Regions from separate parts of the Homo sapiens genome. Here all the other regions are linked to region 1. Evidence: promoter capture Hi-C in 16 types of primary human blood cells and fetal thymus (Javierre and others, 2016). All regions are on one chromosome and are shown on one strand. The core of a region is centred on a gene start or on the middle of the fragment in contact, and the rest is flanking DNA. Distances in the headings are between cores, read along the strand shown.

The links. Contacts are between HindIII fragments. The CHiCAGO score rates a contact against its expected background, and 5 or more counts as called.
Region 2: a contact is called between a fragment that was not itself captured here and the fragment with the promoter of MAGEL2 in region 1, in 1 of 17 cell types (endothelial precursors). The highest score is 5.0, in endothelial precursors.
Region 3: a contact is called between a fragment that was not itself captured here and the fragment with the promoter of MAGEL2 in region 1, in 4 of 17 cell types (M2 macrophages, M0 macrophages, non-activated CD4 T cells and 1 more). The highest score is 7.8, in M2 macrophages.
Region 4: a contact is called between a fragment that was not itself captured here and the fragment with the promoter of MAGEL2 in region 1, in 2 of 17 cell types (M0 macrophages and M2 macrophages). The highest score is 7.5, in M0 macrophages.
Region 5: a contact is called between a fragment that was not itself captured here and the fragment with the promoter of MAGEL2 in region 1, in 7 of 17 cell types (endothelial precursors, M0 macrophages, M1 macrophages and 4 more). The highest score is 17.3, in endothelial precursors.
Region 6: a fragment that was not itself captured here is called in contact with the fragment with the promoter of MAGEL2 in region 1 in 6 of 17 cell types (endothelial precursors, M2 macrophages, M1 macrophages and 3 more); the score reaches 20.2 in endothelial precursors.
Region 7: a contact is called between a fragment that was not itself captured here and the fragment with the promoter of MAGEL2 in region 1, in 4 of 17 cell types (endothelial precursors, M0 macrophages, M1 macrophages and 1 more). The highest score is 9.2, in endothelial precursors.

Annotation. Positions count from the first base shown.
Region 1 is chr15:23,646,368-23,649,398 of GRCh38, reverse strand. It overlaps MAGEL2 (MAGE family member L2), which reads left to right and starts at 1,532. Exons shown (of 1, transcript NM_019066.5): 1 at 1,532-3,031. The coding sequence starts at 1,657. RefSeq lists an enhancer at 2,245-3,031. The HindIII fragment of the contact is 5,160 bases long and covers 392-3,031 here.
Region 2 is chr15:28,115,803-28,118,833 of GRCh38, reverse strand. HERC2 (HECT and RLD domain containing E3 ubiquitin protein ligase 2) reads left to right here. Exons shown (of 93, transcript NM_004667.6): 87 at 1,680-1,821; 88 at 1,975-2,169. Among named protein-coding and RNA genes, the nearest start is that of OCA2, 18 kb to the right of the region's middle. The HindIII fragment of the contact is 5,691 bases long and covers 1-3,031 here.
Region 3 is chr15:27,026,502-27,029,532 of GRCh38, reverse strand. It overlaps GABRG3 (gamma-aminobutyric acid type A receptor subunit gamma3), which reads right to left. Exons shown (of 10, transcript NM_033223.5): 3 at 2,712-2,779. Among named protein-coding and RNA genes, the nearest start is that of GABRG3, 57 kb to the right of the region's middle. The HindIII fragment of the contact is 5,080 bases long and covers 1-3,031 here.
Region 4 is chr15:27,007,448-27,010,478 of GRCh38, reverse strand. The region is part of intron 2 of GABRG3 (gamma-aminobutyric acid type A receptor subunit gamma3); the gene reads right to left. Among named protein-coding and RNA genes, the nearest start is that of GABRG3, 38 kb to the right of the region's middle. The HindIII fragment of the contact is 6,028 bases long and covers 1-3,031 here.
Region 5 is chr15:26,876,857-26,879,887 of GRCh38, reverse strand. All of the region lies in intron 3 of GABRA5 (gamma-aminobutyric acid type A receptor subunit alpha5), which reads right to left. Among named protein-coding and RNA genes, the nearest start is that of GABRA5, 11 kb to the right of the region's middle. The HindIII fragment of the contact is 3,533 bases long and covers 1-3,031 here.
Region 6 is chr15:26,849,369-26,852,399 of GRCh38, reverse strand. It overlaps the pseudogene RPL9P26. Among named protein-coding and RNA genes, the nearest start is that of GABRA5, 16 kb to the left of the region's middle. The HindIII fragment of the contact is 3,890 bases long and covers 1-3,031 here.
Region 7 is chr15:26,813,771-26,816,801 of GRCh38, reverse strand. No RefSeq gene overlaps it. Among named protein-coding and RNA genes, the nearest start is that of GABRB3, 42 kb to the right of the region's middle. The HindIII fragment of the contact is 669 bases long and covers 1,204-1,872 here.

The DNA of each region.
Region 1 (3,031 bases), core at 283-2,782:
GAATGTATCCCCTGCAGGTAAGGTGGGGGGGGCTACTGTATCATCAAGCACCCTTAAAAATCTGACTGTTTTGAAAAGAGTTTCCTGGGAATAACAACATCCCTTAAGTGTCCAGAAAATCACTGAAACTTTACCCCCAAATTCTTCTATTATTGTTTAAGGCAATAATAACATTGGGAGTGTGTACATACCTTCTCTTGGGTCCATAAATTACCAAATTTGAGGACCCCTGGCTAAGGGTACCTGGGAAGGAGTGGGGTGTACCCTTCATCGTCCTCATCTGCCCCCTGGTGGCACGTTTTGTCACTCTGGACTCCTGCCGTAGGCTGCCAACAGCCTATTTAAACGAAACATCCTTGATATTTAGTGCTTTGTATATTTCCAGAAAGCTTTTCAATTACTGAGATTATCACTTCCTCTCACCATAAAGTTGTATAGCATTGCCCAATAATACTATTGTCATCTGCTTTATCTGTTAATACTTGATTTGTCTCATATTTAAACTGATTTTTGTCACGAGAAGTTTCCCCAGAAATTTTTTTATTCTTTGCCTGTTTTTCCTATATATCCAAATATATCAATTTTTGATCTATTTATATACCCATTTTGTTATCTTCAGGTGCGTTATTTGGTTTTCATTTTTTAAATTTCTTTCCCATTCTGCAGATGAAAAATACTGAGAAACCTACTCTGTTCCTGCATCCGAGCCATTCCACAGGCAGTTTTCCCATACTAAAAATGCTGTCTTCCACTGATGTGTGGCATGTCTCAGTTCCGTGACTTCTTTTCCTCTCTCTCTACTCGCTGCTGTCCCTTTTCTCCATGTGTCTCTAACATGCCTGTGTTCTTCAAGACCCAGTGCAACCACATTCCCTCCCACAACTCTATTTTCATGAGGAATAGCCAAGCAGGACTCCCAAGACATCATACAGGAGTGCCTACAGGGTATCTCTCCTTGGCAGTCCCACAGCACCGCAAATGCCCTGTGTCTGCCAATACTCATCAGCCTCTCTTCCCGTGTGCCTCTCCTGGGACCCTAAGAGAGTAACAGTCCCTGCAACTTCCCACTTTCTCCAGGCAGGGACTTGTGTGCCTTTTCCATGTCTTTGACTCCTTTATTCAATTATAATACAGGTATCTGTCTGCTATAACTCCTGGAACTCTCTTATGTAAATGCGCTTTTTTCATTCTCCGCCTCACATCTTAGCCCAGACCACACCATCTCCCCCCGCCGTCTTGGATACCTTCCATGTTTCCAGTGGTCTGCTCCCACTCCACACTGCAGTACAGTGATTTTTCTAAAACATGGATGGGTTCCTGTCACTCCCCTGTGAAAAGTCATCCATGTGGAGTCTGACTGGTCTGCATTTGGGGACTGGACAGAGTGAGAAGGGATCCTGTGTCAGCCAGGACTCCGGTAGACGCCCCTATGCAATATCCACTTGTGGTGGTCGGGGGCGGGGAAGGGGCGGGATTGAGCCCCCTTCCCCCCTCCTCCTTACTGCGGAAAGCTGCGGAGCGAGCAGCACTCACTTCCTATTCAGCATTCAGCAGGGAGGGAGCCTCTGAACAGCCACGTAGGCATTCTCTTCTCTCTGGAGGAAAAGGCCCAGCAGCTGTCCGAGGAAAAGACCCACCAGCTGTCAGCAAAGGGACATGTCGCAGCTAAGTAAGAATCTGGGTGACTCGAGTCCTCCGGCGGAGGCCCCGAAGCCGCCTGTCTATAGCCGCCCTACGGTTCTGATGCGGGCCCCGCCCGCTTCCTCCCGGGCTCCGCCAGTCCCTTGGGATCCACCTCCAATTGACTTGCAGGCTTCATTGGCCGCTTGGCAGGCACCTCAGCCTGCCTGGGAGGCCCCACAGGGCCAGCTGCCCGCCCCGGTGGTTCCGATGACCCAGCCTCCTGCCCTAGGGGGCCCGATAGTCCCGGCTCCCCCGCTGGGGGGCCCGATGGGTAAGCCTCCGACTCCCGGGGTCCTGATGGTGCATCCTCCACCTCCGGGAGCCCCGATGGCCCAGCCTCCGACCCCGGGAGTCCTGATGGTGCATCCTTCAGCTCCCGGAGCTCCCATGGCCCATCCTCCTCCTCCGGGGACCCCAATGTCCCACCCTCCCCCTCCGGGGACCCCAATGGCCCATCCTCCTCCTCCGGGGACCCCGATGGCCCATCCTCCTCCTCCGGGGACCCCGATGGTGCATCCTCCTCCTCCGGGGACCCCGATGGCTCATCCTCCCCCTCCGGGGACACCGATGGCTCATCCTCCCCCTCCGGGGACACCGATGGCTCATCCTCCACCTCCGGGGACACCGATGGCTCATCCTCCCCCTCCGGGTACACCGATGGCCCAGCCTCCAGCTCCGGGAGTCCTGATGGCCCAGCCTCTGACTCCGGGAGTCCTGATGGTCCAGCCTGCTGCTCCGGGAGCACCGATGGTCCAGCCGCCTCCAGCAGCCATGATGACCCAGCCTCAGCCTTCAGGAGCACCGATGGCCAAGCCTCCAGGTCCAGGAGTCCTGATGATTCATCCTCCAGGTGCGAGAGCTCCGATGACCCAGCCTCCAGCTTCAGGAGCACCGATGGCACAGCCGGCGGCCCCACCTGCACAGCCGATGGCCCCACCTGCACAGCCGATGGCTTCTTGGGCCCCGCAGGCTCAGCCTCTGATCCTGCAAATCCAGTCTCAAGTTATAAGGGCTCCTCCGCAGGTTCCCCAGGGCCCGCAGGCACCCCCAGCGCAGCTAGCCACACCCCCGGGCTGGCAGGCGACCTCGCCAGGATGGCAGGCCACGCAGCAAGGCTGGCAGGCCACTCCCCTGACTTGGCAGACCACGCAGGTCACCTGGCAGGCACCAGCCGTTACCTGGCAGGTGCCGCCGCCCATGCGCCAGGGGCCCCCGCCCATCCGCCCTGGCCCACCACCCATCCGCCCTGGCCCACCACCGGTGCGACAGGCCCCACCGCTGATCCGCCAGGCCCCACCGGTGATCCGCCAGGCCCCACCCGTGATCCGCCAGGCCCCACCCGTGATCC
Region 2 (3,031 bases), core at 276-2,775, 4.5 Mb before region 1:
TTTCTACAGATGTAGAAATAGAAGTGATTTTCTGCCTAAAAATGAACATGGAGAAAAACATTGTTTGAATTCAGGGTGTGCACAGGACACCAGCACGGAGCCAGGAAGGCTGCACAGGCGCCTCCAACCCGCCACCCCATGGCTGCGATGATGGGCTCAGGGACACGCCTCCCAAGAGGATGCCATGGGAGGGACTCTCACAGCTGTCTGGATAGTTTCAGAGACTCCAGAACACAGGTCATCTTACTGGAAGGTTTTGTTTGTTGGGAATTTTATTTAGTTTTATAGCAGGATCTGAACATCACTACATAAAAACTTTTTTATACTTAAAAATTTATTACAGAGTTATTGCATGCACATTTCTGAAAATTTAGGGAATTCAGATTAAAGACAGTTAAAATCATCTGTGTTTCTATTGAGCAGAGAAAGTGCTGTCCCGCAGGAGCCTGTCTGCCTCCAGCCTTATGGCTGCTGTTTTCTGCAGCCTCTGAGTGCAGACAGCCTCTACTAGTGGGTGTCGTCATGGAGGAGAGGCAGCCCCGTGGGCTTCGGGGAGCTGGGTGCACCTCTCCTCTCACACAGCCGCCGTGACATAGGGCATGTCCTGTTCTTTTCTTGTAGCCTAGTCTCCTCTGGGCATGATGGAGCCTTAACAAGCTGCCGCGAGTTTCCAGGAACTCACGTCTGTGAACACTAGCCGTGTGTGTGGCACGCAGACAAGTTCATTCTACAGGCAACTGTGGCTCCTGTCATTCTTCTTGTATTTTTAGTCTTGGTTATGGCAGCCTGCTCTGTAAGCTGTTTAAACTCAACTTTAAGTGAGCTAAAGGTGAAGAGAGCTTCACTGGAGGAGTCATCAAAATACATTCTCAGGACCATTTTTTCTTCAATTTTTCTTTTTGACATCCTTCCAGACTGGGCTTCCCAGATGATTCTGATGCACAGCCTCGGCCACCTGCCCTCCGATGTGCCGAGGTCCTGCTGCGGCGGGGCCCTAGGGCTCCTGCCCTGGTGTCTTTGGGAATTGGAGGCCCCTGAGCCTTTAGCAATTGTAGCTTAGGATGAGAAGGATGGGCAGGGAGTGACTGCCTGTGTTGGGGAGGCTGAGTGGCCCCAAGGCTTGGAAATGGGATGGGTGGAAGCAGATGTGGGGAAGGGCTGGTCCTGGCTGAGGCACTCACTCACTGTGTCTGCTTCAGTCTCAGGGGCATTGGGTTGAATCTTTGAGTGCCGGGAGTCTGTTCTGGTCTGCTGGGGGAGCTGCTTTTGGAGTTCCTGGTGTCTTATTTCATGAGGTCGTGGCAAGATGGTGAAGTAGCAGCAGTGCTTAGGGTGTGAGGATGGTCCGTGCCAGGGTGGTGCTGCCGGGCCGCAGCTGTGGACGTGGTGGTGGTGTGTGTCGTGTTGGAAGGTGTGTTTGTTCAGACACACTAGTCCTGGGGGCTGCTGGGCACATCACTGGCGACATGCCCAATGGGGTGAGGCAGCGGTCTCGGGTGTCCACAGTCGAGCGCCCCAGACGGCAGGGTCTGCCTGGCGTCCACACAAGCAGGTGTGTGACCAGGGAGGGGCCCATGCACGGTGCCTCCTCCTCGTGCATTCGCCAGTGCCGCATATCCCCGACTGTGTGCTTCCTGCTGCGGCAGCGGCCTCACGCTTGCTTGCTTCCTCCTCTCCAGGTCAAACGATCAAGGAGCAAAGGCGGGCTGGCCGGCCCCGACGGCACCAAGTCTGTCTTTGGGCAGATGTGTGCTAAGATGAGCTCGTTTGGTCCCGACAGCCTCCTCCTTCCTCACCGTGTCTGGAAAGTCAAGTTTGTGGGTGAGAACTTGCCACGTGCTGGAGCACCTGTGTCCCCGGCAGTGGTCGCCTGAGCCCACAGGGAGCACAGAGGCCACATGGTGTGGGAGCGTTGGGGCTCTCTTTACACAGGACTGTGTGAGGGGACTTCGAGTGGCTGCTTCTCCCCTGCAGGTGAATCTGTGGATGACTGTGGGGGCGGCTACAGCGAGTCCATAGCTGAGATCTGTGAGGAGCTGCAGAACGGACTCACGCCCCTGCTGATCGTGACACCCAACGGGAGGGATGAGTCTGGGGCCAACCGAGACTGCTACCTGCTCAGCCCGGCCGCCAGAGCACCCGTGCACAGCAGCATGTTCCGCTTCCTGGGTGAGCTTCTCGGCCGCTTGAGACTGTGTCGCTGTGGCCTGTGCCTGCTCTTGAGTTAAAATGTACTATCTGTTTGAGGAGTGACAGTAGATATCTTGAATATCTGCTTTTAGTTTTTGAGACTGTTACCAATAAAAATGACTTTTAGGGTGAGGCGCGGTGGCTCACGCCTATAACCCTAGCACTTTGGGAGGCTGAGGCAGGCAGATTGCCTGAGGTCAGGAGTTCGAGACCAGCCTGACTAATGTGGTGAAACCTCGTCTCTAGTAAAAATACAAAAAAAATTAGCTGGCTGTGGTGGCATGCACCTGTAGTCCCAGCTACTCAGGAGGGTGAGGCAGGAGAATTGCTTGAACCCGGGAGGCGGAGGTTGCAGTGAGCTGAGATCGTACCATTGCACTCCAGCCTGGGCAACACTCTGTATCAAAAAAAAAAAAAAAAAGAAAAAGAAAAGACTTTTAATATTGATCGTGCCTTTCACCAACATTGTGGAAGCGAACGAGGTGCTGTTGACTTCCGTGCCTAGCATTGAGGGCCTGACGGTGGTGGACCGTCGGAAGCTCTGTGCACAGCTGCAGGCACTGGCAGAGCCAGCCCCGGCCACGTGCTGAGGACTGGAGACTGCCTCGGGTACTCAGAAGATGGGAGATTCTGTTTCTGCATCTTCAGTGTTTATCTGAGACTTGGGATCAGAGTGGGGTGAGGTCTTCGCCATTGGCCAGTCCCTCCTTCCTGTCCCACTGAGGGTGTGCAGGGTGTCCTCGGCTGTGCGTCCCACCACAGCCAGCACCTCCTGGGCAGGGCTGTAGCTCCCTGGAGGACACTCCCGTGGGGAAGTTCCAGCTCTTTGCTGTCATAAGAA
Region 3 (3,031 bases), core at 316-2,815, 3.4 Mb before region 1:
TGTGTGCGTGTGATGCATGTGTGCACACGTACGTGTGTGCCTGTGTGTGTGCACGAGTGTGTGCATGTGTGCATGCGTGTGTGTGTGTGTGTGTGCATTTTAAACAAATCCTTGCCTGCCCTCTATGCTTTGCTGAGCCGAGGTAGGCTAGTAGTACGTTGTGTCTTCCTCAGGAAATCAGACTCCAGAATGGCCTAGACAGTGCCATCCCTGCTGAGCGCTGACTGCGGCCTCGGCGCTGTTTGCAGAGGAAAGCACTTGCTAGCATTCGGCTTCCCCAGGGCTGCGTGCCAGCTGCTTCCAACTCACACAGCAGCAGGCAGCCACACAGGCTCCCCACCCCTTCAGTAGGGTAGAGAGCCATGCTAGAAAGAAAACCAACTGGACTAAGTGAAGTTTCAAAATATTCAGGGCAAGTTTTACAAATGAGAGAGTTAATAGAAAATAGCTTTCTACTCCACATCCTGCCACAGCTCAGCCTTGGAAACCTGCTGTGTCAGCCTCCAGATGAGCAGGATGCTGGTGCACACGTGTTCTTCTCCAGGGCCCAGGGCTTACAATGCCCCCGGCCATTCTAAGGTCGTTTCTCACCCCACAGGGAAGGATCAGAGTTCATGATTTCAAGTCCCTAATGTGAGCTCTGCATCATCATGTAGTTTTTGTTTTTTTTCAGGGAGAGAGGGGTCTGACTAGCGATCTTACTGGATTTTTTTTTTTTTTTTTTTTTGAGATGAAGTCTAGCTCTGTCACCCAGGCTGGAGTGCAGTGGCTCAATCTTGGCTCACTGCAACCTCCGCCTCCTGGATTCAAGCGATTCTTCTGCCTCAGCCTCTCGAGTAGCTGAGACTACAGGCGCCTGCCACCATGCCCAGCTGATTTTTTATATTTTTAGTAGAGTCAGGGTTTCATCACGTTGACCAGGCTGGTCTCGAACTCCTGACCTTGTGATCTGCCTGCCTCAGCCTCCCAAAGTGCTGGGATTACAGGCGTGAGCCACTGTGCCCGGCCTGGATTTGAACAAATCTCATGAAATATGACCTGCTCAGATCTCTGATGGGAAAAGGTTTTCACAGTTTCCAAACGCAGGGATCTGTTTTGGATGAAGAGAAGGCTGAGGTCCGACCCTTAACTGCAGCTTCAGGGCCTTGGTCACAGCTGCCCCCATGTGCCCCTCCAGGCATCTCTCCACACATCACTCCCTCGTCCCCAGCTGTGTGACGCACTCTGTCCTCCTGTGTTACTAAGGACCTTCAAACTTTATCCCACCTAGCACACTCTTGCCTATCCGTCAAGTTTCAGATGAAGAGGACCTCACTGGAGAAGTCCCTTCCACTCCTGCAGCAGGGCCGTATCACCGTGAAGGAGCCTGTCACTCACTCGGCCTCCTTCTCTGCAGCCCGTGATTTCCACATGAAAATTCCCGTCTATTCCAATAACAAAGCCTAACACGAGGCACAAAGTAAATTCTAAAGTTAAAGGCCTGCAGGAAAATCCCTCTATATGCAAATGCAATTGACTTCCTGAAATAATTCTGTAACCATATATCCAGGAAGGCACTTCTTCTTTGAGTGTTAGACATAAACACATGTTAGACGTAAAGGTGTTGAATAAACGGTTGTGGAACAAATGCAAGAAAATAAAACTCCAGAACAAGAAACATACATAAGAAAGGGTTACTCTGAGCAGTCAACTGAATAATGATGTATCAGGAAAAGGGAATATTACACTCACAACTTGATTTTAATATACAGCCATCTGCAGCACATAGGTTGTGTGAAATAATTCTCCTTTATTCATTCCACTTCTTTGCTCCAGTTTAGGGATGATATGGAGATTTTTTAAGTGAATCACCCACAAATATAACTTTACCCCTGCATGGAACCCTTATATCACCAGAGAAAAGAACACTTTTAAAATCTGGCAATGAAAAGAAACGATTTTGCTACTAATTTTGGAGGGGTTATTTCCATCCACAGAACACTGCAATGAAAAGAAGAAATTTAAGTCAGCATTTTGGCAATTCCCCTCCCTCGGCCTCACGTCTCCCCAAATCAGGAGCAAATGTGCAGCAGGGAGCACAGGCAGGACCTCCGCAGGCGGGGGGAGCTCCTGACAATGCTTGAGGCTGCAATAGACAGGCCTGCTTGGGGATCCTAGGTAGTCCTGTTAACCCCTTGCTGGCAGGTGGACTGTGGCCTTCAGCCCACCACAGAAGGCTCTCACCCTAACGTATTTCAATACCCCCACACTCACTTCATAGCCAGGCACTTTTGCACAGGGAAGGGCTTCTTTCACATCCAATAGTTCTTGAGCTGAATTTGCTTATAAGCCTGTGGGAATACCCTACTCGGGGAAAGCACATATTTGATCCCATACTAAAAAGCAGAGGCAGTTTATTTACTCTCAAAGTCCAAACTGAAGACAAAAGTATAATCTGAGTGATCTCGAATCCTTTCCTAAGAAACACTATAAAAGACAGGTCTCTTGGATGTTGAAAGAAGAAACTAAAAGTGGAAATGCTACTACCATCACAAGCTATCTTTCTTCATTTTTTTTTTTACCATTTTCAATATTCCAATAAGTGTTACAGATTTAAGAAGTCAGTGTGAGTTTTAAACCGGCATGATAAATCTCAAACAGAAATCCACAATGAGAATGTAACAAGAAGAGGTGCAACAGCCGTTAGATCAGAAAATAAAGGAGCTTCTTACCATGTTTATTGATGACACAGGACCAATGCTGTTAACATAAATGTCAACGTCAATTACGGTCGGTTTTACTGTGGAGAAAAATACATGTATGTTAATACTTCGTGCCGGAGAAAGACAGAGGAGAGCACATTCAAGTCCTAAAGTCTCATACATAGCATCACAAGGACATGGTGGAAACACACATGAGCAGGGCTTTCTTTGGGACTTCTCTTGTAATTATAATTCAAGCCCTGCCTGCCTTTCTTTTCAAAATTCTCGAAGGATGAGAGATTCTTACTTGTATCTTTTCAGTTCTATCTAGGAAAATAGAATATTTATAC
Region 4 (3,031 bases), core at 212-2,711, 3.4 Mb before region 1:
ATGCCTGGGGCTATTGTTTTGACCACAGTGAAGCTATCTCAGTTGTTCTAGGTAAAAGAATCAAGCAAGTTACTGCATTTCTAGAATATTTAATTAGCTGCTTACCCTGATTGCTAAAGTTATCACCCTGTTCATTCTGTGGCCTGGGCGTTCCTTGATGAAGAATCTTTCTTTCAGGTGAAAGCACAAACAGAGAGAGGACAAAATTCCTAGGAAGGTGCCTATGGAGGAGGGGTGGCACACAGCTCTGGATATCCAACAAATTACCCTAGATCCCAAGCTATCAACCTAGGTATGTGACATATCAGCCTTGTGTGCAACACCTTAGCTTAGGTATGCAACACCGGCTCTACAAAAACTACAAAAATTAGCTGGGCTTGGTAGTATGTGCCTGTAGCTCCAGCTACTTGGGAGGCTGAGGTGGAAGGATCACTTGAGCCCTGGAGGCAGAGGTTGCAGTAAGCCATGATCATACCACTGCACTCCAGCCTGGATGAAGGAGTGAGAGCCTGTCAAAAAAAAGAAGAAGAAAGAAGAATGAAGAAAGAAGAAGAAGCAGCAGAAGCAGAAGGAGGAAGAGGTGGTGGAGGAGGAGGAGCAGGAGGAGGAGGAGGAAAGGAAGAGGAAGAGGAAGAAGAAGTTGCCTGAGGAATCTAGGACTCCCACTTTAAGCATGCTTTACATCTTAGGAGAGATGGTCAGTTCTGTGCTGGGGCATATGTGTGATCACCATAGGATGGCCAGACCTTCCTGGCTGCCCTTTTGAATCTGGCTCCAAATTTGGATTGATGATACTGTTTGGGCCTCAAAAGGCTTTCATTGCCTTGAGGATGAGAACTGTCCTAATGTAGGCATTGTTAGCTTTCCCTGAGCATTTAGAACATGAGTATGGTCTTAGCAGTAGGCTCACTAAGTAAAGTCCTAGGCAAACAAATACATATTAGAAGCTGAAAAATACTGGAAACCTTTCTCAGCCTTTCCCAAATTTCTTCCTTACCTGGCTAGAACTTTTGCTTGTTTGTTTATCTAAATATGTAAATATGTAGGATGTATATATTGGATCCTAACGGTTTTTTCAATCGTCATGTGTCCTCTGACAAAAATGCAAATATCTTGGTAGGACTAGTACTTTCCAGTCTATATAACCAGCTCAGTAAGGGGACATCAGAACAAAACTGAGAAGAAAAGCAAAAAGATTCCCAAGACCAACCCACCCTATTACAACACTGACGGCTTGTTCTACACGGTTTGCTATCAGTATTCGAGCTCTCTCAACTTGGAATTCTTTATGTCAACCTAGAGGAGCCCGCAGCAGTCCAGTGTGCACCTGTGGAGTATGTGTCGATGCTCAGGGCAGCTGAAGAGTGAGCTGGGGACGCAGTGTCTTCCAGACGGCACCGTGAGCAGAGTCTGAGCTCAGCCTAGGACTGTCAGAGCCTACCGTCCTGTCCCCTGCACTTTCTTCCCTCTCCTTGCTCTACATCCTCGCCCCGTCCCACCCCTACCTCTCTTCTCTGGAAACATTCCTCATCCATGGGGGCTGCAGCTGAACTGAGAATGGGAACAGATGCTGGATTTTCTTCTGACTCAGCCCCTAGCGAGGTGCCATTGAAAAGGCCAACTGACACCCATCATCGCCTCAGCTGAGCTTTACCCCAGAGCAGCACTGCAGAGATGTCCGCTCACGGCGACCCTGAAAGTGAGCAGTGGCTGCTCTGCGGGTGCCATTTACCGGATTAATATTCTCTCCTTCCCTTTCCTTCCAACTTAAAAAAATGAGGTGTGTGCCCTTTTGCAGGGGGATGGTAGGGAGTGGTGGGGGGAGAATGTTATAAAAAAAAAAGCTGCCAGCACCTGATATTTAGACAAGCAATATGGGAATTTAAGAAAACAGCCAGATTAATTAGTTTTATTTATGGAGGCCACACAGGCCTGCCAACTTCTAGCACAGCAGAGTACCCCAGATTCAATTCTCGACTGAATCTCTGAGTGATTGTCAGCCAAAAGATTCCTATCCCATCTATATTTGGAAGAACTGTTCATCTATTTTTGGAGTGAAAATTAAGGGCATGTGCACATTTTTTGAGTGACAAGAAAAAGTCACCTGAACCTGCAATACAAATATTCAGAATATGAGACTATTGAGAGTGAGTTACTCTTTTTAGCCACGTGGGCTCATGTTTAACCTTCCAGATTAACAGTATAAACTAATGCCAAATACTTAGTGATTACGTTCTAATGCATTTGAGTAGGTTAATACATACTTACATATTTTCAACACTGATTCTGGATGTGAATTTTTCTGTTGTTATTTTAATGCACATAAAATATAATTATTTAGCTAAATTAATTTTAAAAGGCCCATATGCTGGGAACACTTAAGGCTAATTTCAATTCAATACCAGTTACCTGTCATATGTAACACTAGCTGTAGTATGTTTAGTAAGAGTTTGTATTATGCTCCAGAAAGAGAAGATGGACAGTAGATAACATATACTGAACAAAGATTTCATGATGAATACATCAAAAGCAATTGCAAAAAAAGCAAAAATTGACAAAAGGGACCTAATTAAACTAAAGAGCTTCTGCAGAGTAAAAGAAACTATCAACAGAGTAAACAACCTACAGAATGGATGAAAATATTTGCAAACTATGCATCCAATAAAAGTCCAATATCCAGAATCTATAAGGAAATTAAACAAACCAGCAAGCAAAAAACAAAAAACCCCATCAATAATGGGTAAAGGACATGAAACAAACACTTCTCAAAAGAAGACATATATGCAGTATATGAAAAAATGCTCAACATCACTGGTCATTAGAGAAATGCAAATCAAAACCACAATGAGATACCATCTCACACCAGTCAGAATGGCTATTATTAGGAAGCCAAAAAATAACAGATGCTGGTGAGGTTGTAGAGAAAAAGGAACGCTTATCCACTGCTGATGGGAATGTAAATTAGTTCAGCCACTGTGGAAAGTAGTATGGTGATTTCTCAAAGAACTTAAAACAGAGCAAACATTTGCCC
Region 5 (3,031 bases), core at 275-2,774, 3.2 Mb before region 1:
GGTTCCCAAGAAGCGAGTGCCCTGGGCACTTGGGAGAAGAACATGTGATTCCTGGTACTTCCCTGAAGTGCCCAGCTGTGGGGCCCTAGCTGTGCTTAAAGTGCTTTCTCTCCCATGAAAAGGCTGAAATCAGAGCTGAGAGCCACCAGCCATGGAGAGATGCTGAGGTCAGAATCGATGCAGGCCTGCTCCACCCTGTTCTTAAAAGTCAGTCATTTTTATTGATTGCATCTAACAGATCAATTCTTTGCTGGCCCTAAAGCTATTCCCTTTTGAATAGAATGAGAGAATAAAGAATAAAGGAATAATGCTCTTTTGATCTAAGTTTCACATCACCATAAAAATGCATATACTTGAAGCTCTAACAAGCTAAAATTCACTCCTGTTAGTACGGAGCCCACAGATGTATACTTTTTTAACTCTGTGATTTCATATTTAAAAACATTAAATTCCCCTTTCTCCAACATCCATGGTAGTTGCACACTTCGGAAAGACATAGCACTAAGCCTAGCATAGCTCCTCCCAGTGAACAGCCTTCTTCTTCAGAGTTTTGCAGGGGGAAAAAAGAAGGTTATATTTTGTACCTGCCCAGTTGTGTAACTATTGGTCAAACCAGATCTGGCTTCATGATGCACTTCTCATGGACTTCATAATTGTCACCGAGTTTGCAACTCAATTTTAGACCACGTCCAGGTGCTCAGTTTTTGGAAGGTCTTTGCTGTCTCTTTATCTTACCAATTGAGGTACTAGTAGAAAAAGCAGATCTTAATGGTGAAATTAAAGTTTTCTAAGCTACTCCATTCTCTGTTGTGAAAATGTTCCTAAATTGTGTTAGATGGTAACAGCCCTGGCTGTCCAGAGACAAGGGCTTGACTTCATGATTGACCATTTGGAGGCTGTGCAGCCACAGTGATGTCTCTGTGAGCGTTGTTTTCCGTGGCTCTCTCCAGAAGCGGAGATAAAGACACTCCTGCTCTGCCAGTTTTAGGGAAACACCATCCCACTGGGCTCTGAATCCCACTCACAAATACCCTAATCATTTCCCACAGTGACGGAATAGAATGCTATGCTTAAGAATTTCAAAGCTCGGATTCTACTTCTTGATCAAAATTATTTTCATTAGTTTCAGTATATCTACACACATTTGCACATAATTACACTTTTCTTGGAGGAATGTCAGTGTCTGCCCTTTCCTGCCATACTGCCTTTTGCCTTTATCTGTAGACCTTTCTTTGTACGATGGGGCCATGGCTGGGGATTTGCAGTGTTGTCCTTGCTGTATTAACTGAAGATAGCCTCTAGGAGGGAAGAAACAGATTCTTAAAAAGCTCTGATGATGCCTATCGGGGTAGGAGCAGAGGGGTTTTTTTTTGTTTGTTTGTTTTGTTTTTTCATGAGCTGGAGGCCCTCCTCTGTCCATAGGCCATCCTCAAAAATGCTTCATCTGCAGTGCGTGGTTATGAAATACACCGCTTTCACAGCCATGGAGAGAAAGGCTCGTGCTGTATCATAGAAGGCAAATGCTGTGTTTTCTCAGCCCCTGGTGTGTAAGTGCCTTCATACAGGAGACCTTCACACATGCCTGGGGAACTGGCTAGCGCCTCTATCAAGCTGTATGATCTTTAAGAACTGCTGCTAAGCTAAGGAGGAACTTCAGCTTGCTTTGTTCCATTTTGGCTCATTGAAAGCACTTGAAAAACAAAATAACACAGAAATCCAGGGCTATGCCTTTGGTGAGCACTAATGTGCAGCGTGTGACGGATGAGTCCTACAGGTGGAAACCAAGATGTCCTCAGCCCATAAAGCGCTCACTCCGTTTAGGGTCAGCAGGCAGCCTACACTCGCCGACGCGCCACTTCTGCTTTTCTCAACTGCACTGAGTACAGCCCAGGAGCTCTGCTCATCCTGAGGTCGACCAGAGTCCACGAGTGCTTCAAGGACAAATAAAGGCTCCATTCTTTGGGGAAGTAAATTTTTGTGAGCTGAGATTATATCCCTATTACTAACAACAGTCTTAGACATAACAGAAATATTTGAAAATTTGGTGACTTACCCTTCAATTTTAGTCTGGGTTAATTCACTAGGTTCTCTTAAAATAGGAATTATTTCCTTATATTGAATGCATATTCTCTACAAAACATGTCCCACTTATGCCATATTCTCAGTTCCAACATTTTCCTTATTTGGTACTTGAAAGAGTACAAGTTGTGGCGTCATTTCTGGAGAAGAAAAAATCTTTTCGGTATTGTCATTCCACCACGGGTGCTAGTGAAGGCAGTGTGTGACGTGCTTCTCTTATATGGATGACCACTTCTGACTTACATACAGTGAGTTCGATAATGGCAACTGCAGACGTATTTTGACTGGAAATTACTTTGGACCTTGAACTGGGCTTGTTTTAAGCTGCAGCTTATCTGTCTTCTTAAACTTTGTTCTTCCCCAGTATTTAATGACTTCTGAAAAATGTCTCTTCTGTTTATTTGTCTGTTACTTTCAGGTCATTAAATGAGTACCTCTAAATGGCACCATTGTGTGATGTTTTCCTCAAATGCCCATTACCGATCACTTAAGCACCATATTAGAAAAACAACAACAATGTAACAGAAAAACAAAACCAAGATGGACACTGGCTGGACAGTGAGGGTCAATCCCAGGGTTCCAAATAACAGCTTTCCCCTCTTAAGGTGGAAAACATGGACAGGCACCACATTGTTTTATGAGGCTCTGAGTCTGTGCCATGGAACATCATGCTAGAACTCTCCGATATTCCTGCCAAATCCTAAAATCCCCCAGTTCTCCCTGCAGCTCCTGAAATCCTACTGAAGTGTATTCCTCAATCTTCATGGAGGTTCTCCATTCTTGCCCTTGGCACTGCTGCCCAACTCAGAATCCTGCTGCCCACAAGGTAAAACCCAAGCCCTATGGCCCCACAGGCCAGAGCCACCTCTCCCACCCTGCCCTCCTTCCTAGACTCAGCCCTGTTCCTCCTCCCAGCCACACTGGGGGTCCTGCATAGGTGATGACACAGTGA
Region 6 (3,031 bases), core at 151-2,650, 3.2 Mb before region 1:
ATGCATATGCCTACTGCTATTTCTATGAGGATAACCATGGTAATTTGGTACTAGGGTCAAACACGTGCTGTCTTGCACACATGGCCCGGCCACAACTGCTATCAGCTCACGGCCAGTCCTGTGACATCTCTACCCTCACTCGCTCATACCCTCAGAATTACTTTTAAGCAAACTTAAGATATCATATCTTTTTATCCATAAATAATTCATTTTGTTTTCAATACACATATTCTTAAATTTAAAAAAAGCAAATTGCATAACAATGCTTATACTATGAAGCTATTTTTAAAGGTTTAGGTGTTTATAGCCTAATTTGGGTGCATGTACAGAAAGCCTTGGAAACTTGCACATCAAGTCAGCATATAAATGTGTTTTGCTTCTCTACAAGGAATTGGAAGATTATTTTCTTTCAGGATATAGTGTTTCACACCCTGTTTGCTTCCCCTAGACACAAATGTTGGACCTTATGATACCCATTTCAGCCTGTATTTAAAAATAGGACTTCAAATACATCTAGAGTTGACCACATACTTGCCAAGAAGGAGGGGAAATATCCATGTCTGGTAGCTTAAACACACACACACACACACACACACACTAGGAATAGTTTATTGTAGATAAATAAAATAGGTAAGAGGGTAAAAGTGCTGGGAAAGGCAGAGACAACAGGTCCAATGTAAAAGTTTAGCATACCTTCACCACACACCATCGGTAAGGCTCTGAACAAGTAACAGAGGAGAGTGTGGGAATATCAGCACGTGGTCCATTCTTGCAGCATCTATAGTGAGAATGATCATCATTCTCAACAACCAGACAGTTGACCTCTCATAAAATGTCAACATCACTTAGAAGGGACATCCACATTTTATGAAGGACCCCAGAAGAGTCCTGCAGAGGAACCTCAATCACATCAATGTGAAACTCAGCTTCCTTGGAAAGAAAAACAAGCAGCCCTGGGTTGATGAATGGTAGGAAAAAGAAAGAAATCAGCTATTTTTGCACTCTATATTGTCATTGACCAAACATGATCAAGGATCTCCACTACAAAATGAAGTTGCCTGCATTCACCTTCCCAACAAAGTTATCATTCAGGAGACCAGGTGTCCTGCTGACATTCACAACTTTTTGGATAAAAAATATATCTGCAGAGTTTGGATGAGGTCGGGTGTTGCTTGATATTTTAAGCCCAGGAAAACAAGTTAATTCCTAAGTGAAATGGCATGGAACTTGTATCAAGTTCAGCTGCATTGATTCAGCAAGCCATGACAGGTTAAAAAAATCAAAAGAAGAGGCTGGGTGCGGTGGCTCATGCCTGTAATCTCAGCACTTTGGGAGGCCAAGGTGGGTGGATCACCTGAGGTCAGGAGTTCAAGACGACCAGCCTGGCCAACATGGCGAAACCTCGTCTCAACTAAAAAAAAAAAAAAAAAAAAAAAAAAATTAAAAAAATTTAAAAATTAGATGAGCATGTTGGCAGGCACCTGTAATTCCAGTTACCTGGGAGGCTGAGGCAGGAGAATCGTTTGAACCTGGGAGGTGGAGGTTGTAGTGAGCCATGACCGAACCACGGCACTCCAGCCTGAGCAACAGAGTGAGACTCTGTCTCAAATAAAATAAAATAAAATAAAATAAAAAGAATACCAGAAGATTTGGAATGGTATCTATTTCTGTGAGAAAGAAAGCTGACGAATAAGATACAGAAGTTCTTCATTGAAACAAGATGCTGAATGATACCTAAGACCAATTTGTCATATATTTTTAAGAACAATAAAACTATTTTACTGATCAATGGAAGACCCAATACATATTTGTACAGAACCAACAGTATGTTGAGTTGGGAGAGGTAAAAATAGACCACAGTACACTGATCTGAATTGAGAATGTGATACAAAAGAGGTGGCAAGCACCCGGGAAACGCAGTCTCACACTAAACTTCCATTTGAGTTAAATCGTTCACATTCACAGGCTATAGCAGTACTTGCTAAATGTGGTTAAAATCCCCACTTTGACAAAATAGCAGAGACATCTCCAGATTGGCATATGCCTGCAGAACAGTTTGCCTTCCTCAAGGAAAGGTGCTGCCTACTATGATGTTGTTAGCTTTGTTAGCTTTTGGTTTTGTTTTGATTGGATGTTTTCCAGCCTTCAGAATTTTGAATTACTGTCATCTTTTGAAATAATGCCATACTAATTCAAATGCCAGCATAAATTAAAATACTTCTTAAGTGCTTAGAAGAAATTAACATCAACGAGCCACATAGTTTTAAAAGAAACATAATGATTTCTCCTAACGTAAGCAAAGAAGCCTTCCAATACACACTCAACAGATGAAGCTGCTGCTGAGTGACTGGAAACTGAGATTCCTGGGACTCTGTTCTACCAAAAACAGTATTGGCAGTCAGGAGAAACAGTTCTGAATACAGATTTTGGGGTCCGACGGATCTGGGTCCAAGTACTGACATTGGACCCAAATTACTATTTGGGTGACCTTCGTGCAAGGGATTTGGGCCCTTTGGTCTTCCATCTCTAAATAGGATGATGACCTTTGCCTCCTAGGAGGGAGATGAGGAGAAATTGAGATAATGTATGTGAAGGTGGTGTGCCCACCTAGCCCAAGTGCCCAGTAACTATCAGCTCTCAGACCACTCTTTTGCTCGCTTGACACTCCGTGTTCATCCAAGTAAGGGGGCTACACTTTAACACAGAAGGTAAAGTTCGGGCATAAAATGAAAACAAACAACACTCTTCTTCCCCGAAAAGTATGAATTATTGTTATAAAGTATCATTTTTAATGTCCCCTTAAAACATTCTCCCATGTCCCATGTGTCCACATCCACAGAAGTTTTATCCAGTTCTTCATCACATCTCTAAGGCATCTCCAATTAGTGGAAATCCTAGAAAGATCATCACTTGGACCCAGGTGTATTCACTTGCTAGCCCTGCCCTGTTGTTCAAGTCATTTCAACTCCCTGAGTCCCAGCCTTGCTCTTTGTAAAATGGACAACAATGTTTACTTTATGGAGCTTATGTT
Region 7 (3,031 bases), core at 289-2,788, 3.2 Mb before region 1:
TTTGCATCCTATTTAATATGGCTTCTCTCACATGATTTTCTATTATAATATTTTATTTTAATTTTGTTACTGGATATACCACAATTGGAAATTATCTTTATTGTTTGTTTTCTGTCTCCTTCACTAAAATTTAAACAGTGGTTCAGTAACCACGTTAGCTACTATTGGAGCAGAAACCAGGGCCTAAGCTTATCTAATACGATGTGTATTACTTTTTAAAAATGTGTGTACATTTCTTTAAATATTATTTCTTGATTTTCACAAAATGCTAGTCAAGATATCTTAAATAGACAGAGTTTGGGAACATGCTTATTAAAGGACTTTTAGACCTTAGCAATAATCATGAAGATTACCTTTTATCCTTCTTTGTGTTTTTTTTTTTTTCAGGAACGCAGTCAAAGAACACAGAACATTTTATGCCATTTATGAAACCAGGTACGTCCATGATGCCTGCATTTTATCAATGAAAGGTTTTCACTTCTTACTAATGCTATGAGTATTAGTAGTGATTGTAATATAAGTCTATAACTTATTTTATGTATTTTGTTGTTGAAATGCTTGTCTAAATTATGTTAAGGAATACATAGAGAGAGACTAAAAGAATATAATGATGAAATAGTATCACCTTAACTTGTGTAATTTTGCTATAATTTTAAATGAAAGTTTTGTTGAATTCTATCAGGGCATCTGATTCTAGGACTAAGTGTATGCAAGTTTGAAATCAAGTGATTTAGCATGGGAAGGAGCTTCAGACGTCCTCATCTGCCATGTTTCGAAAGGTAGCCCACGAAGTTTAGGCTTGTCCAAGATCACACAGCTACTCAGAAGAGGAGTTAAAAAAAGAAAACATGTTCCTTACCTTTATCACCATGCTCTCACATTGCTCCACAATGACTGGCAAAAAAAAAAAAAAATGCCCATGTAATTATTTTGTGCATATAAAATCATATTCTCCAACTGATATTCTCTTAGAAAGAAACAAACTGACAACAAAATCTTGCAGTAACTGTTTAGAAGTCATATATTTAAAGAAAACTAATCATGTAATACTTTCCTTTAATCTTTAAAGATTCAGCTACACTACAATTTCACAGTTAAGACTTCTCTAGATACCAACCACTCCCAACCTCCAAACCAAATCAGCTAACATTCCAGCCAAAGTTCATTCTTCTCTGGGCCCATTATTTTTTAATGTTCAAAGCTTTTCTATGTAAAAATATAACCGCTCCTTCCTTCCTATTTTCTTTCCTTCCTTCCTTCCTTTCATATACCCAGTCTCAGTACTGTAATATAAACTATAGTAGTTGTTAAATATTATTGGTAGAATTCATAATTTATTATTAAACATAATTCTAGTTTATCATTTTTGCATATATATAATTTTATTTACTCATCCACATGTGAGCATCAAGAAATGCTCCAATGGATATCTGAAAATCAAATATATTCCTGTCTGTAACCTTCCTCCTCATAATGACGTGGGTCAACTCCCCTGACCATATGGCAACTCCAGTTTTAGCCATCAAGTTTACTGGCATGAGAAACCCAAAGTGACCAAGCAACAATAGCTTCATTGTTATTGAGGTTATTAACGTGCCCACTTGTGGGAGTGTCCCTTTTCTGAGAACCAGGACAAGTATACCCAAAATATTGATGTTTTTTATTATTCACTATTAACATTAGGGTTCACACTTTGTGTTGTAAATTCTACAGCATTTGAAAAATGTGCAATGACATATCTGTACTTGAGAACAAGTATAGTATAATAGTAACATATTCTGTGTGTATTATAGTATCATACAGAGTAGTTTCACTGCCCTAAACACCTCCTGTTCTTAATCTATTCAACCCTCCTTCCCTCCCCCTGAAGCTTTAAGAACCATTAATCTCTTCTTCCTGTCTCCATCATTTTGCCTTTCCAGAATGTCATATAGTTGAAACCCTACAGCACGTACCCTGCCAAGACTGGGTTCTTGTGCTGAGCAGTATGCATTTAAGAACATTCCATGAATTTCTGTGACTTTATAGCTTATCCCTTTTTATCTCTGAGTAATCTTTAATAATATGAATGTGCCACAGTTTGTTTAGACCCTCAATTATTGAAGGATATCTTGGCTGCTTTCAAGTTTTGACAATTATGGATAAAGCTACTATAAACTTTCGTGTGCAGATTTTTGTGTGGACATACATTTTCAACTCAAATTAATAAATACCAAGAAGCATGATTGTGGATTAAATGGTTTATTAGTCTGTTTTCATGCTGCTAATAAAGACATGCCTGAGACCAGGTCATTTATAAAGGAAAGAGATTTCATTGACTCAGTTCCACATGGCTAGGTAGGGCTCATAATCAAGGCAAAAGGCGAATAAGGAGCAAAGTCATGTCTTACATGGCAACAGGCAAGACAGCTTGTGCAGGGAAACTCCCATTTATAAAATCATCAGATCTCATGAGACTTACTCACCACAAGAATAGTATGGGGGAAACCACCCCCATGATTCAATTATCTCCACTTGGCACAACCCATGGTACATGGGGATTATTACAATTCAAGATGAGATTTGGGTGGGGACACAGCAAAACCATATCAAATGGTAAGAGTATCTTTAGTTTTATAAGAAACTGCCAAACTGTCTTTCAAAGTGGCTGGACTACTTTGCCTCCCAGCCAGCAATGAATGAGAGTTTCTGTTGCTCTATGGCTCAGTCAGCATTTGGTATTGTCAGTGTTTTCAATGTAGCCAATCTAATAGGTGTGTAGGGGCATAGCATTTATGTTTTATTTGTAATTCCCTGAGGACATGTGATGTTGAGCATCTTTTCATATGCTTATTTGCCATCCATGTTTCTTCTTTGGTGAGGTGTCTATTCAGGTCTTTTGCCCAATTTTGTTTATTTTTATTTTTGTTTTATTTTAAATTCTGGGATACATGTGTAAGATGTCCACATTTGTTACAAAGGTAAATGTTAGCCATGGTGGTTTGCTGCACCTATCAACCCATCAACTAGGTATTAAGCTTAGCATCCATTA